4 separate regions of the Homo sapiens genome follow, and all the other regions are linked to region 4. The links are contacts of gene promoters, found by promoter capture Hi-C in human tissues and cell types (Jung and others, 2019). All regions are on one chromosome and are shown on one strand. Each heading gives the region's core, a stretch centred on a gene start or on the middle of the fragment in contact. The rest is flanking DNA. Distances are from core to core; before and after follow the strand shown.

The links. The method cuts DNA at HindIII sites, captures the fragments that hold promoters and counts their contacts. A contact is called where the count stands out against the background at its distance.
Region 1: a contact is called between a fragment that was not itself captured here and the fragment with the promoter of RPL35A in region 4, in 2 of the 25 tissues and cell types used here (dorsolateral prefrontal cortex and lymphoblastoid cells).
Region 2: a fragment that was not itself captured here is called in contact with the fragment with the promoter of RPL35A in region 4 in 2 of the 25 tissues and cell types used here (lymphoblastoid cells and thymus).
Region 3: a fragment that was not itself captured here is called in contact with the fragment with the promoter of RPL35A in region 4 in 1 of the 25 tissues and cell types used here (hippocampus).

What each region holds. Positions count from the first base shown.
Region 1 is chr3:197,693,807-197,697,090 of GRCh38, forward strand. It overlaps RUBCN (rubicon autophagy regulator), which reads right to left. Exons shown (of 20, transcript NM_014687.4): 8 at 3,148-3,243; 9 at 2,060-2,175; 10 at 569-779; 11 at 1-10. Among named protein-coding and RNA genes, the nearest start is that of MIR922, 21 kb to the left of the region's middle. The HindIII fragment of the contact is 8,342 bases long and covers 1-3,284 here.
Region 2 is chr3:198,112,039-198,115,075 of GRCh38, forward strand. It overlaps the pseudogene FRG2FP. Among named protein-coding and RNA genes, the nearest start is that of FAM157A, 40 kb to the right of the region's middle. The HindIII fragment of the contact is 4,579 bases long and covers 1-3,037 here.
Region 3 is chr3:197,806,041-197,809,258 of GRCh38, forward strand. The region is part of intron 1 of LRCH3 (leucine rich repeats and calponin homology domain containing 3); the gene reads left to right. Among named protein-coding and RNA genes, the nearest start is that of LRCH3, 16 kb to the left of the region's middle. The HindIII fragment of the contact is 8,087 bases long and covers 1-3,218 here.
Region 4 is chr3:197,948,459-197,951,627 of GRCh38, forward strand. RPL35A (ribosomal protein L35a) reads left to right here and starts at 1,732. Exons shown (of 5, transcript NM_000996.4): 1 at 1,732-1,763; 2 at 2,478-2,520; 3 at 2,701-2,853. The coding sequence starts at 2,510. The region is part of intron 2 of DRC9 (dynein regulatory complex subunit 9); the gene reads right to left. RefSeq lists enhancers at 1,135-1,354, 1,434-2,216, 3,000-3,169. The HindIII fragment of the contact is 11,846 bases long and covers 1-3,169 here.

The sequences.
Region 1 (3,284 bases), core at 647-3,146, 250 kb before region 4:
ACCCGAAAGCCTGTTATGTTTAAAAACAAAAAGGAATAAACAGGGCAGAAAGAGGTCTTCTTGTCCTTCCAGTGTCACAATATAAGGGATCTGATATGACCTCAACAGAGAGAAATGGAAACTTTCCCTTTAGAAAGTTTCAAGTAAATAGAAGGTACTACTATCTGGGAAGCAAATCTGGGAGCAGTGTTCTTAGGTCTCCTCATATCAGGAAGCTATTTGGGAAGGGAGCTATTCCTTTATTTATATATATACATATATATATTTAGAGCTGGGGTTTCACCATGTTGGCCAGGCAGGTCTCAAACTCCTGGCCTCAAGTGATCCACCCGCCTCGGCCTCCCAAAGTGCTGGGATTCCAGGCGTGAGCCACTCTGCCTGGCCTGGAAGGCAGGTATTTCTGATGCAGGAAACGGAGCGACTCTAGGATGAGTATTCCTAGCATGATAGAAAAAAAGTAGGACTACATAGAAACATCTGACAGCAGAGGAACCACTGGTTTGGGCACCAGGCCTTATGCTGAAGTTGGGAAAATGTGGGAACAGAAGCATCCACAGGCTCCACTGACTTCCGTGCTCAGCCTCCTGGTACATGGGGAGCAGGTTCTTGGTGCGGATTTGCTGGCGCCGAAGGCGGATCTTCTGCTTCAGCTCCTGGATCTCTCTATCACTGTCTTCCTCTTCCACTTCCTCCTCCTCTAGGCACTGGCTCATCATGTTGCACTTCATTAGCTCGATGGCAGCAATTAAGGACTCTGAGATGCTGAAGTGGGCATTCTCCTGGCGGAAGGAGAGCACCAAACAGGCAAAGGGTTAGAAGTATTGAATGACATACTCATTATAATGTGGAAAAGGGAGTTTCCAAGATAGGAACTGTTCCTGCCAAAAACACCCTGGAGAAATGGACATTTCTACTACGAGGAAAGCTGATGGCTGGAAAACCTATTCTAGGTTTTCTTCACTCTCTTACTTTGCCAAGCCTGTCCCTTCCTGTCTCATTTCTACATAAAAATATGATAGAGAAGAGGCCCAGGATTTCAATCAGGTTCTTTCCCAAAATCATACACCTGTACACAAAATATTAAGATAAATGCTATGTCTCAAGATAAAAGTGCTTTGTAGTCTATAAAATGCTACACAGATGTCATTTATTGCTTATCTGAGCCTTAGAACAAAAGATAGAATTTGATTCTGGAAACAGTATTTACCTAAGGTGCCAGAGTCAAGGGAACCGCAATCATGCAGCAAAAACAATGCTGCCAGACGCAGCGGCTCACACCTGTGAATCCCAGCACTCTGGGAGGCCAAGCCCAGGAGTTCAAGACCCCAGACGCAGCGGCTCACACCTGTGAATCCCAGCACTCTGGGAGGCCAAGCCCAGGAGTTCAAGACCCCAGACGCAGCGGCTCACACCTGTGAATCCCAGCACTCTGGGAGGCCAAGCCCAGGAGTTCAAGACCCCAGACGCAGTGGCTCACACCTGTGAATCCCAGCACTCTGGGAGGCCAAGCCAAGGAGTTCAAGACCCCAGACACATGGGCTCACACCTGTTAATCCCAGCACTTAGGGAGGCCAAGCCCAGGAGTTCAAGACCAGCTTGGGCAACACAGGGAGACCTCCCCCATCTCTACAAAAAAATAAAAAAAATAGCCAGGTGTGGTGGTGCATGTTTGTAGTCCCAGCTACTCGGGAGGCTGAGGCGGGAGGATTGCTCGAGCCCAGGAATTTGAGGCTGTAGTGAGCCATGACCGTGACACTGCACTCCAGCTTAGGTGACAGAGCAAGACTCTTGTCTCAAAAAAACAAAAACACACACACAAACTTGATGCTTCTCTGCCCAGGTTGGCTTCTAAGATAAAATCGCTAATAATTTGGACTCAGTGAGGGGCACATGCTCCCTGCAGAGTTCCTCAGAAACAGAACTTGCTGAGCTTCCCTTTACCGTGAACTTATCTTTACTGTAATCTATACCCAAAACCTCATCAGAACAAATGGCACCACAGACCTTCAGACCCAATCTCCCAACTCATGAGCTCTTCATGAGGCCCTCGATTTCCCACCTTTTCCAGGTCGGCACAGCTGCCGAAGTCTTGCTCAGAGAGGTAGCTGATGAGGGACTGTCCTTCTGATGGTCTTCGGAACATGCCTTCCCCTGAGCACAGGTACCGACCACCTTCTGTGGGAAATGGAATGTGGATGAAACAGCCAGGCTTCTTCAGGAAGTCTTAAGCTTTTGTCATTAAAGATGCTCCCAAGTCTTCCCAGGTAACTGGGAATTAGAGGTTGGAAGAAGATGTCCACCTTCTAAAAGAATTTCTTGCACTTTGGGAGGGCAAGGCAGGCGGATCACAAGGTCAGGAGTTTGAGACCAGCCTGGCCAACATGGTGAAACCCCATCTCTACTAAAAATACAAAAATTAGCTGGGCATGGTGGCACATGCCTGTAATCCCAGCTACTCAGGAGGCTGAGGCAGGAGAATCATCTGAACCTGGGAGGCGGAGGTTGCAGTGAGCCAAGATCGCACCACTGCACTCCAGCCTGGGCAACAAGAGCAAAACTCTGTCTCAAAAAAAAAAAAACAAAACAAAAAAGAATTTCTTGGACTCTTAGAATCCCAGAGCACTAAGCCTCTTGGTTGGAAAACGGTAGAATAAACAGAGAGAATCCTTCTGCCATCTAAAATTAAAGAGAACATGCTCTCCCTCGTACCATACAGTAAAGAAAAAACAAAATAAAAATGTAGAACTTTGGGCTGGGAGGCAGAAAAGGACACAAATGGCTTCCTCCTCTGCATGATTTCCACATAGAGTCTGTCTGCTGGTTACTAAGCCCAGATACTCCAAGGCCTCTTTTCAAGGTCCATCTCATCCACTCAGAGAGCCATCCCATCTGGACCAGCCGACGTACCCGGTGCGAACACCCAGCACGTAAGAGAGGGTGGGACCCCCAAGTCAGAGAGAAGCAAGAGAAATGGCAGAGCAGTGTGATTTCTAGCACGGGGGTTAAAAATGACAAAAGAGTGACTGAGACTGTAACAGTGTGTACCCTCCAGAGAGCTGAGATGAACCCCAAAACTCAGAACTTAGCAGGCACAAGGGGTGAGCAGAGAAAATATACAATTTTAGCCCTGGCCTTCCTAGTACTCACCATATTCCATGTACAGAGAGCTGGGTGTGCTGACTTCACTGCTTTGACCAGAGTAGGGCAAAGGGCCTCTCAACTTCGCCTTATCATTGCAGGATTCTAATGACGATGACCACCAGCGAGTAAAAACACATACGAAA
Region 2 (3,037 bases), core at 99-2,598, 160 kb after region 4:
ATATAATCAGAATGGTAAGCTTTTTTGTAAAAGGCCGATGCTATAGACAAATTTTATATTTCATGTTAGATATGGAGGTCTGGTGACAGTCATGCATTTCTATGTAATCAGGAAAATATTAGAATGTGATCATATGAGTTTGCATATTTTAGATTGTAGAAAAGAAATGTTACCCAGGCTGGAATGCAGTGACACAATCTTAGCTCACTGCAACCTCCGCTTCCTGGGTTCAAACAATTCTCATGCCTCAGCCTCTCAAGTAGCTGGGACTACAGGCATATACCACCATGCCTGGCTATTTTTGTTTTTTTTTTTTTTTTGTATTATTAGTACAGACAGAGTTTTGTCACGTTGGCCAGGTTGGTCTCGAACTCAAGTGATACGCCAGCCTTGACCTCCTAAAGTGCTGGGATTACAGGCATGAACCGCCTTACCAAGAAATTGCTCCTCTTTTATTTCAGAATAGGTTGTAGGCTCTCACTCTTCTAGCCTGAACCCGTGAAGTACTAATATCCAAAAAACATTAATAGCACTTGCTGTGGAAAAATGATTACACATTTTAAAGTTTGATATAATTATAGTAAAATTACCATGCAAGGTGTTTACTTTTAATATTTTTACAAAAAAATTAAGTAACGATATATTAAATGGTAAATGAGTGTACTCATTTATTCACCTGCCTCATGTTTTCATTATAAACATCCTAAATTAAATCCTATTGTATCTTACACATTTCAATTGATTGTATTGTATTGCAGGATATGGAGATTTCATAATATACTACAATAAAGTGTATTTTGTTATATTTAACATATATTCTACTTGTATTTTATATTGAGGTCATACAATCTTTCATTATTTGTTTTAATTATTTGGTTGCTTTATAATTTTCATTATATGTAATAATGTACATTGATGTTGTTTGGAATTTTAAATTTCAAGATAATTTTGTCTTACTTTCATATGGAATTAGTGTTTACTATAGATGTGAAAAAGAGAATGACTTATCTTTATTTCTGTGTCATCCTAACCCTGACCTCCCCACTGCCCATAGCTCTTGTCGTAGTCGGGAAATCGTGTTCTGTCACTCCAGTAAACGGGGCGATTCGATGATACCACACAGATATAAATTGCAGATGTAGAGCTTTTGTTCAAGACCAGTGCAACGGAAAAAAATCACAGGCATGTGAGTCACACAATTTTCGGGTTGTCAGTGCTTATAAAAATTATGCTTAAACTGTGCTGTAGAATAAGTCTGAAACACCCTTACGTCTATTAAACAAATGCACATACCTAAATAACGTGTCTAAATGGGAATGTAAATATCTTCACGAAACGTACTTTGTTGCAAAGTACACTTGCAACAAATAACAGTAACACAGAGATACAGTAGCATCATATAAGGTTGAAGAAATAGAGATGAGAAGAAAAACAGAGACAGCGAGAAAGGGAGAGACGGAGAGAGGAAAAGACAGACGGCGGCGGGGACATTGGAGAGGAGAAAAGAGAGGGAGGAAGAGAGGCGGGAAAGACAGAAGAAAGGCAGGGGAGGCGCGACGGGGCGAGGGACGGGGAGGAAAGCGGTCTCCCGCCTCCAGGGCGGGCCGAGGGCTGGGCCCGCGGGGCGCTCACGTCCCTCCGGATCGCCCGCCTGGGTCCGCTCGCCGCGGAGAGAGTCTCAGCAGTTCCGACTCCCGAGGAACGGGCGACTTCCCGAAACACCCAAGGGCCGCAGCGCAGGCGGCCGCCCGCTTTCCGCCCGCGCGGTTCACGGACCGCACATCGCCGGGCCGGGCCCTGCCACGGAGCCAGAGCCGGATGCCCCGAACACGCAGGAGTCACAGGGCGACCGGAGCGTGACTTCGGATTCCACGTTGCTTTGCCCTCTGCAAGGGGCCTGCTGGCCACTATCAAGGTATAGCAATTGAAGCAGCATGACACTAGAATAAAAACAGACATAAATACAAATGGAATGAAATGGAGAACTTAGAAACAAACTCATACAGCTAAACTAAACCTATTTTCAACAAAAGTGTCAAGAACATACAACAAAAAATAAGACAGTTTCTGTAACAAACGGGGCTGGGAAAACTGGCAAGCCATGGGCAGAAGAATGAAACTAGAACCCTACTTCTTGCCACATACAAAAATGAAAATGAATTAAAGACTTAAACCTAACGCCTCAGACTGTCAAACTTTTACAAGAAAACATTGGGGAAACTCTTTAGGGCATTGGTTTGGGCAAAAATCTCTTAAACTATGCCCCATAAGCACAGACAACCAAAGCAAACATGGACAAATGGAATTACAGCAAGTAAGAAAGCTTTTTTAAAGTGAAGGAAACAATAAAGTGAAGAGAAAACCCACAGAATGGGAGAAAATATTTGTAAATTACCCATCTGAAAAGCAATTAATAGCTACATGATATGGTTAGGCTTTGTGTGCCCACCCAAATCTCATACTGAATTGTAATCCCCAGGTGCTGAGGGAGAGACCTGGCAGAAAGTGATTGGATCATGGGGGTGGTTCCCCCCAGGCTGTTCTTCTGATAATGAGTGAGTTCTCATGAGATCTGATGGTTTTATAAGGGGCTCTTCCCCCTTTGCTTCACATACATGCTCTCTCGCCTGCTGTCGTGGAAGAGGTGCCTGCTTCCCCATCTGCCATGATTGTGAGTTTCCTGAGGCCTCTCCAGCCATGTGGAACTGTGACTCAGTTAAACCATTTCCTTTATAAATTACCCAGTCTCGCCAGGCGCAGTGGCGCATGCCTGTAATCCCAGCACTTTAGGAGGCTGAGGCAGGTGGATCACGAGGTCAAGAGTTCAAGACCAGCCTCGCCAAGATGGTGAAACCCCATTTCTACTGAAAATACAAAACTTATCTGGGCATGGTGGTGGGTGCCTGTAATCTCAGCTACTCAAGAGGCTGAGGCAGAGAATTGCTTGAACCTGGGAGTTGGAGGTTGCAGTGAACCAAGATCATGCCAGTGCACTCCAGCCTGGGTGACAGAGCAAGACTTCATCTCAATACATAAA
Region 3 (3,218 bases), core at 666-3,165, 140 kb before region 4:
CTCAGCCTCCCGAGTAGCTGGGATTACAGGCATGTGCCACCACACCCGGCTAATTTTGTATTTTTAGTAGAGACGGGGTTTCTCCATATTGGTCAGGCTGGTCATGAACTCCCGACCTCTGGTGATCCACCTGCCTCGGCCTCCCAAAGTGCTGGGATTACAGGTGTGAGTCACTGCGCCTGGCCTATGTTTTTAAATATGAAAAGAAAACTAAATACTACTAGATAGTTGAAGAACATTTCTCTTTTTTCTTTTTTCTAATTTTAGTAGAGACAGGGATCTTACTGTGTTGCCCAGGCTGGTCTCAAACTCCTGAGCTCAAATGATCCTCTCACCTCAGCCTCTCAAAGTGCTAGGATTACAGGCATGAGTGCCTGGCCTTGAAGAACATTTCTGACATCAAAGAGAAGAACATAACAAAAGGAACCCAGAGAAAACAGACAGTGCTGACAAAAGAAAAACTTCCAAAAATCTGGAATCAATATCCTAAAAGTCAGAAAAGAAGGTACTGCAGACATGAAATATAATAAGGGTCTCTAAGAAAAGGGCATAGGAATGCCGGACATGGTGGCTCACTCCTGTAATCCCAGCACTTTGGGAGACTGAGGCAGGTGGATCACCTGAGGTCAGGAGTTCAAGACCACCCTGGCTAACATGGTGAAACCCTGTCTCTACTAAAAATACAAAATTAGTTTGGTGTGGAGTTTCACCATGTTGTCCAGGCTGCCCTTGAACTCCTGACCTCAAGTGATCCACCCGCCTCAGCCTCCCAAAGTGCTGGGATTACAGGTGTGAGCCACTGCATCCGGCTCCTGAGACCCCATTTTTACAAAAGATTTAAAAGAAAAATTAGCCTGACATGGTTCCGCATTCCTGTGGTCCCAGCTACTCAGGAGGCTCAGGTCAGAGAATCACTTGAGCCCAGGAGTTCCAGGTTTCAGTGAGCTGTGATTGCACCACTGCACCCTAGCCTGGGCGACAGGGCGAGACCCTGTGTCAAAAAAAAAAAACAAACAAACATGCATACACACATACAAGAGTTAAAAGTGATTGCTTTAGGGGAGCAGGTATTGGGAGTTAATGAGGAATTAGACCTCTCCTGTTTGGGTGCTAATTTTTACTTTCAGCCTATATCCTTCTACTTGAAGTGAGTTTCTTGTAAATAACATAGAGTTGCATTTTTTTTTTTTTTTTGAGACGGAGTCTCGTTCTGTCGCCCAGGCTGGAGTGCAGTGGCGCGATCTCGGGTCACTGCCAGCTCCGCCTCTCGGGTTCACACCATTCTCCTGCCTCAGCCTCCCAAGTAGCTGGGAGTACAGGCGCCCGCCACCACGCCCAGCTCATTTTTTTGTATTTCTTTTTAGTAGAGACGGGGTTTCACCGGGTTAGCCAGGATAGTCTCGATCTCCTGACCCTGTGATCCGCCCGCCTTGGCCTCCCAAAGTGCTGAGATTACAGGTGTGAGCCACCATGCCCGGCCGCATCATGTTTTTAAATCCACTTTGCTAATCTCTGTATTTTGGTCATTTGATCTGTCTTTTAGATAATTTGTATTTCATATCATTGTTGATGTGTTAGGGCCTAAGTCTGCCATTTTATTTGTTGTTTCCTTTGTTTTCCTTTCTGTGTTCTTTTTCTTGCCTTCCTGTGGGGTTCGTGAACATTTTTTAGAATTCCATTTTTATTTCTCTGTAGTGTTTTTGAGTGTATCTCTTTGTGTAGCTCTCTTTGTTGCTGCCCTAGGTATTACATGAGAGAAGTCCAACTTGTCAGTCTATTGGTATCCTTATTTTATGAGTTTGAGTGACGTATAGAAACCTTACCCCCTTCATGTCCCTTTTCTTTCCCTGTTATAGTTGTCTTAAATATTTTCTCTATAAATATTTAGAATCACATCAAACAGTCTTATAATTTTTGCTTCCAATATAATTTGGAAAACTCAAGAGAAGGAAAGTCTTTTATATTTACCCATATTTTTGCTTAGTGTTATGTACTGAATTTTGTCCGTCACCCACAAATTCATACATTGAAGTCCTAACTCTCAGTATCTGCGATTGTGTTTGGAGGTAGTACTTTTAAAGAGGTAATTAAGTTCAGATGGCATCATTTGGCTGGGCTGTAAGTCAATACAAGTGATGTCCCTGTGAGAGGAGATTAGGACAAAGACAAAGAGGAAAGATGATATGAAGACTCAGAGAGAAGACAGCATCTGCAAGCCAGTGAGAGAGACCTCAGAAGAAAGCAACCCTGCTAACACCTTCATCTCAGACTTCTAGCCTCCAGAATTTGAGAAAATACATTTGTATCGTTTCAGCTGCCCACTGTGTGGTATTTTATTGTGGCAGCTCTAGCAAACTCATACGCTGTGTCCTTTCTTGGTGTTTTAAGATTCCTTTCTTTCACCACTTACTTTCTATTTAGAGAACTTCCATTACTCATTCTTTTAGATTACATCTGCTGCTACAGACTCTCTCAGTTTTCATTCATCTGAGAATGTGTTGATCTCCTCTTGATTCCTGAAGGACATTTTGCTGGATATATATACAATTCTGGGTGAACAGTCTTTCTTTTAGTGATTGGAAGATGTTGGGCCAGGCGCAGTGGCTCATGCCTGTAATTGAAACACTTTGGGAGGCCGAGATGAGCAGATCACTTGAGCCCAGGAGTTTCAAGACCAGCCTGGGCAATGTGGCGAAACCCCATCTCTCCAAAAATTAGCTGGGCATGGTGGCACATGCCTGTAGTCTCAGCTACCTGGAAGGCTGAGGTGGGAGGATCACTTGAGCCCAGGAGATCAGAGCTGCAGTGAGCTGTGATTGTGCCACTGCACTCCAACCTGGGTGACAGTGAGACTGTCTCAGAAAAAAAAAGGATGATGTTCTGCCACTTCTTTCTGGCTTCCATGGTTTCTGATATGAAATCTACTGTCATTTCAATTGTCTCTCTCTTACTGCTTTCAATATTTTTTTTTTCTTGGCCAGGCATGGTGGCTCATGCCTGTTATCCCAGCAGTTTGGGAGGCCATGGCAGGAGGATCACTTGAGGTCAGGAGTTCAGGACCAGCCTGGACAACATAGTGAGACGTCTTCTCTACCAAAAATACAAAAATTAGTCAGGAGTGGTGGTGTGTGCCTGTAGTCCCAGCTCCTCAGGAGACTGGGGTGGGAGGATCTCTCGAGCCCAAGAGGTAGAGGTTGCAGTGAGCCATGATTGTGCCA
Region 4 (3,169 bases), core at 482-2,981:
AACATGACAACGATGCTCACAGTTGTATCAGGTGCTAAGTCTCAGTGCTCAATAAGTATTTGTGGAACGAATAATACACGAGCAAACGAATGAAACTCACACTTAATGTGTTATTCCTCCCAGGAGGACTTCCATATAGAACTTTGACAAATCAATATCTAATAGTGAAATTTCTAGCACATTTCTTTCTGGGACAGGGAACACTGGGTGGGGTAGTAGGCTACAAGGTACAAGTTCTATCCTGTTGTATTTAAGAGAGGATCTGATTTTAAAAGTGACTTATATACATCTATTTCATACAACTTCGGAGTCATACTTTACTCTCTCTCATTCCTCATCCACCAGCAAATCTTGCCAGAATTTAAATATATTCAGAATTCCAGTACTCAATATCCTCTGTTTACACACCATCACCTCTCATCATAGTCACTACAGGAACCTATAATTATCTTCCTGCTGATACCCTTGCCTCCCTTCACTTTCAACACAGTGACTTTGTCAATATAGAAGTCAGATAGAGTCACCCTTCTGTTCAGGACCCTTAAATAGTTCCCATCTCAAAGCAGGGGAAGCCTCTTTTACATACTTCCCATCTCAAAGTGGGGAAAGCCTCTTTTACAGTGGCCTCTCTGCTTAATTTTCTTCACAGAAATTATCATCTTCTAACGTGTCATCTATTTTTACTTGCTCATTGTGTTGCTCCGCCTCGTAGGATATAAGCTCCACGAGGGCATAGATTTGTTTACTGCCGTGTCATCTTACACAAACCTTGGTACAGGGTAGTCATTCATTAAACTATGTGTTAAATAAATGAATGAATCCATAGGATAACCCAAATAAATATGCAATAATTCGGAAATGTGAATCTCTGGCGTCCACTAATCCACCTCTACAAGTATCTACGGAGGACCTACTAGGTGCGGACACGAGGCAGCTAAACGAGTTCTCCTAAAAGGGCGATAAAGCCTCCTGCAGGCAGTCCTCCTCATACCTCGGATCCAAAAAGAAGAATGGAGGTAAGAACTTAAGTCATTTCATTCATTTTTTTTTTCTTTTGTAGAGGTTGGGGGAGGTGGTCTCACTATGTTGCCCAGGCTGGTCTCGAACTCCTGGCCTCAAGCGATCCTCCCGCCTCGGCTTCCCAAAGAGCTGGGTTTACAGGCGTGAGCCACTGTGCCCAGTCTCATTTCTTGAAAGAGATAAATAAGTAGAGGGGAGAAAAGAAGTATAGAAAAAGAAAAAAGAGAAGGAAGAGGTCCTGCTGCCTTCGTGCTCCCGGCCTTTCTCTTCCATGCTAGATTAGGATCCCAGAATTTCCGTTCTGTCTATTGCTGTGTGTATCGAGAGAAAAGCACCCCACTGTTGGCAAATCAATCTTACAGTCAATCATTCTTTAGGCAGCGGGAACATCCTCCACTCAGGGTTCGCCTTTCCACCTACGGCGTCCGGGGACGCAGGAAGTAAACTAAGTTGTTTCTATGGCAACGCACAGCTTTGGCGGATTTAGCTGGCTACCATTTTGCCTTCCCTTGTTCCCAAGTAGTACATTTTGCAGCCTACCAAGATGAAAGGACTTAGGAAAATAATTGTAAGAGTGCTATTGAATGTGGCTTATTTCAGTGCGAAGCCGATTTCCGAGGATTGTTTTTCTGGCGTTTGGAGAAGATGCCTAAATTGAGGGCGGAGTCGAAAGATGTTTAATCCCACAAGGCCACGCGGCGGGGCCTCGTCCTTCTCTTACCGCCATCTTGGCTCCTGTGGAGGTGAGTGAAGGGTCTGCTGCTGAAATTTGGGGGCAAATAACCGGAGTAGGTTTGTTCCTGTGCCTTGGCGAGTCGCCGGTGCGTATCGGAGTCTCTGCCAGCCATTGATTTCTACGGGTTTCAAGAAGAGGGAGAACAGGATGGAGGAGATGTTGGGCTGATGGTGTTTGGTCCCCTGACACCCGGAGAACGGCTGCCCGGGTTATCCCAGTTAAATTCCTGGGCCTGAACGGAGTGAAACGATGTTTTTGTTCGTGTGCAGTTGTCCATGAGGCAGTGCTTCCTTCATCCGTTTCCTCCCAGTCCATACCTTCCTTGGCTTGTCTGACCAGTCTCTTTCCTCAGCTTTTCTCCCCCAGCCATTGCATAAAAGTCTTACGTGTGTGTTTCTCTTTAAGGCTTCATTTCTTTTCCTGAGTGTTGCCTACTGATAACGGCATGCATTTTCTCAGGCTTTTCTGAGAGTCATTTTTGTGACTCCTGTCCCTTAGTTTTGTCTTCATTCTGAAGTTTGCTTAGATACCAGCTGTTCTCTGAGGTTTGAATGTCTTGCCGGACCCTGCGTTTCATATGGATGTTCTGGCATTGTTGTCCCCGAACTCCTACATGAAACTCCCATCCAAAAGGAATTTGCTTTAGGGGCTTAAACGAGAGGGGACGAGGTGGGAAACTTGTGTGGCTTGGTTTTAAACTAATCTTTTTGTTTGTTTTAAGGCCTGCTGGGAACGGGACTTCTAAAAGGAACTATGTCTGGAAGGTACGCGTTTTAAATATAGTTCTTTATTTTTGTGTGTTAGACGTGAACGTAAATGCGAGCTTAAAATTGGCAAGAAAAAACTTAGATGTTTGCTCTGAGTAACTTTTGGGTGGGGGTGATTACAAGTCAGATTGGTTTTTTGAAGCTTATGTTTCATGTTGTGTATCTTTTGTGTCTTAGGCTGTGGTCCAAGGCCATTTTTGCTGGCTATAAGCGGGGTCTCCGGAACCAAAGGGAGCACACAGCTCTTCTTAAAATTGAAGGTGTTTACGCCCGAGATGAAACAGAATTCTATTTGGGCAAGAGATGCGCTTATGTATATAAAGCAAAGAAGTAAGTTTATGACACTGGTAGGTTTTGGGTTTTTGAGATCTGCCTCATTTTCTTTTTTATATAACGGAGTCTTGCTCTGTTGCCGAGGCTGGAATGCAGTGACTTGGTCTCCCTCACCGAAACCTCCGCCTCCCGGGTTCAAGCAAGTGTCCTGTCTCAGCCTCCCGAGTAGCTGGGATTACAGGCGCCGGCCACCACGCCCGGCTAGTTTTTGTATTATTAGTAGAGACAGGGTATTGCCATGTTGGCCAGGCTGGTCCCAAACTCCTGACCTTAGGTGATCCGCCCACCTCGGCCTCCCAAAGTGCTGAGATTA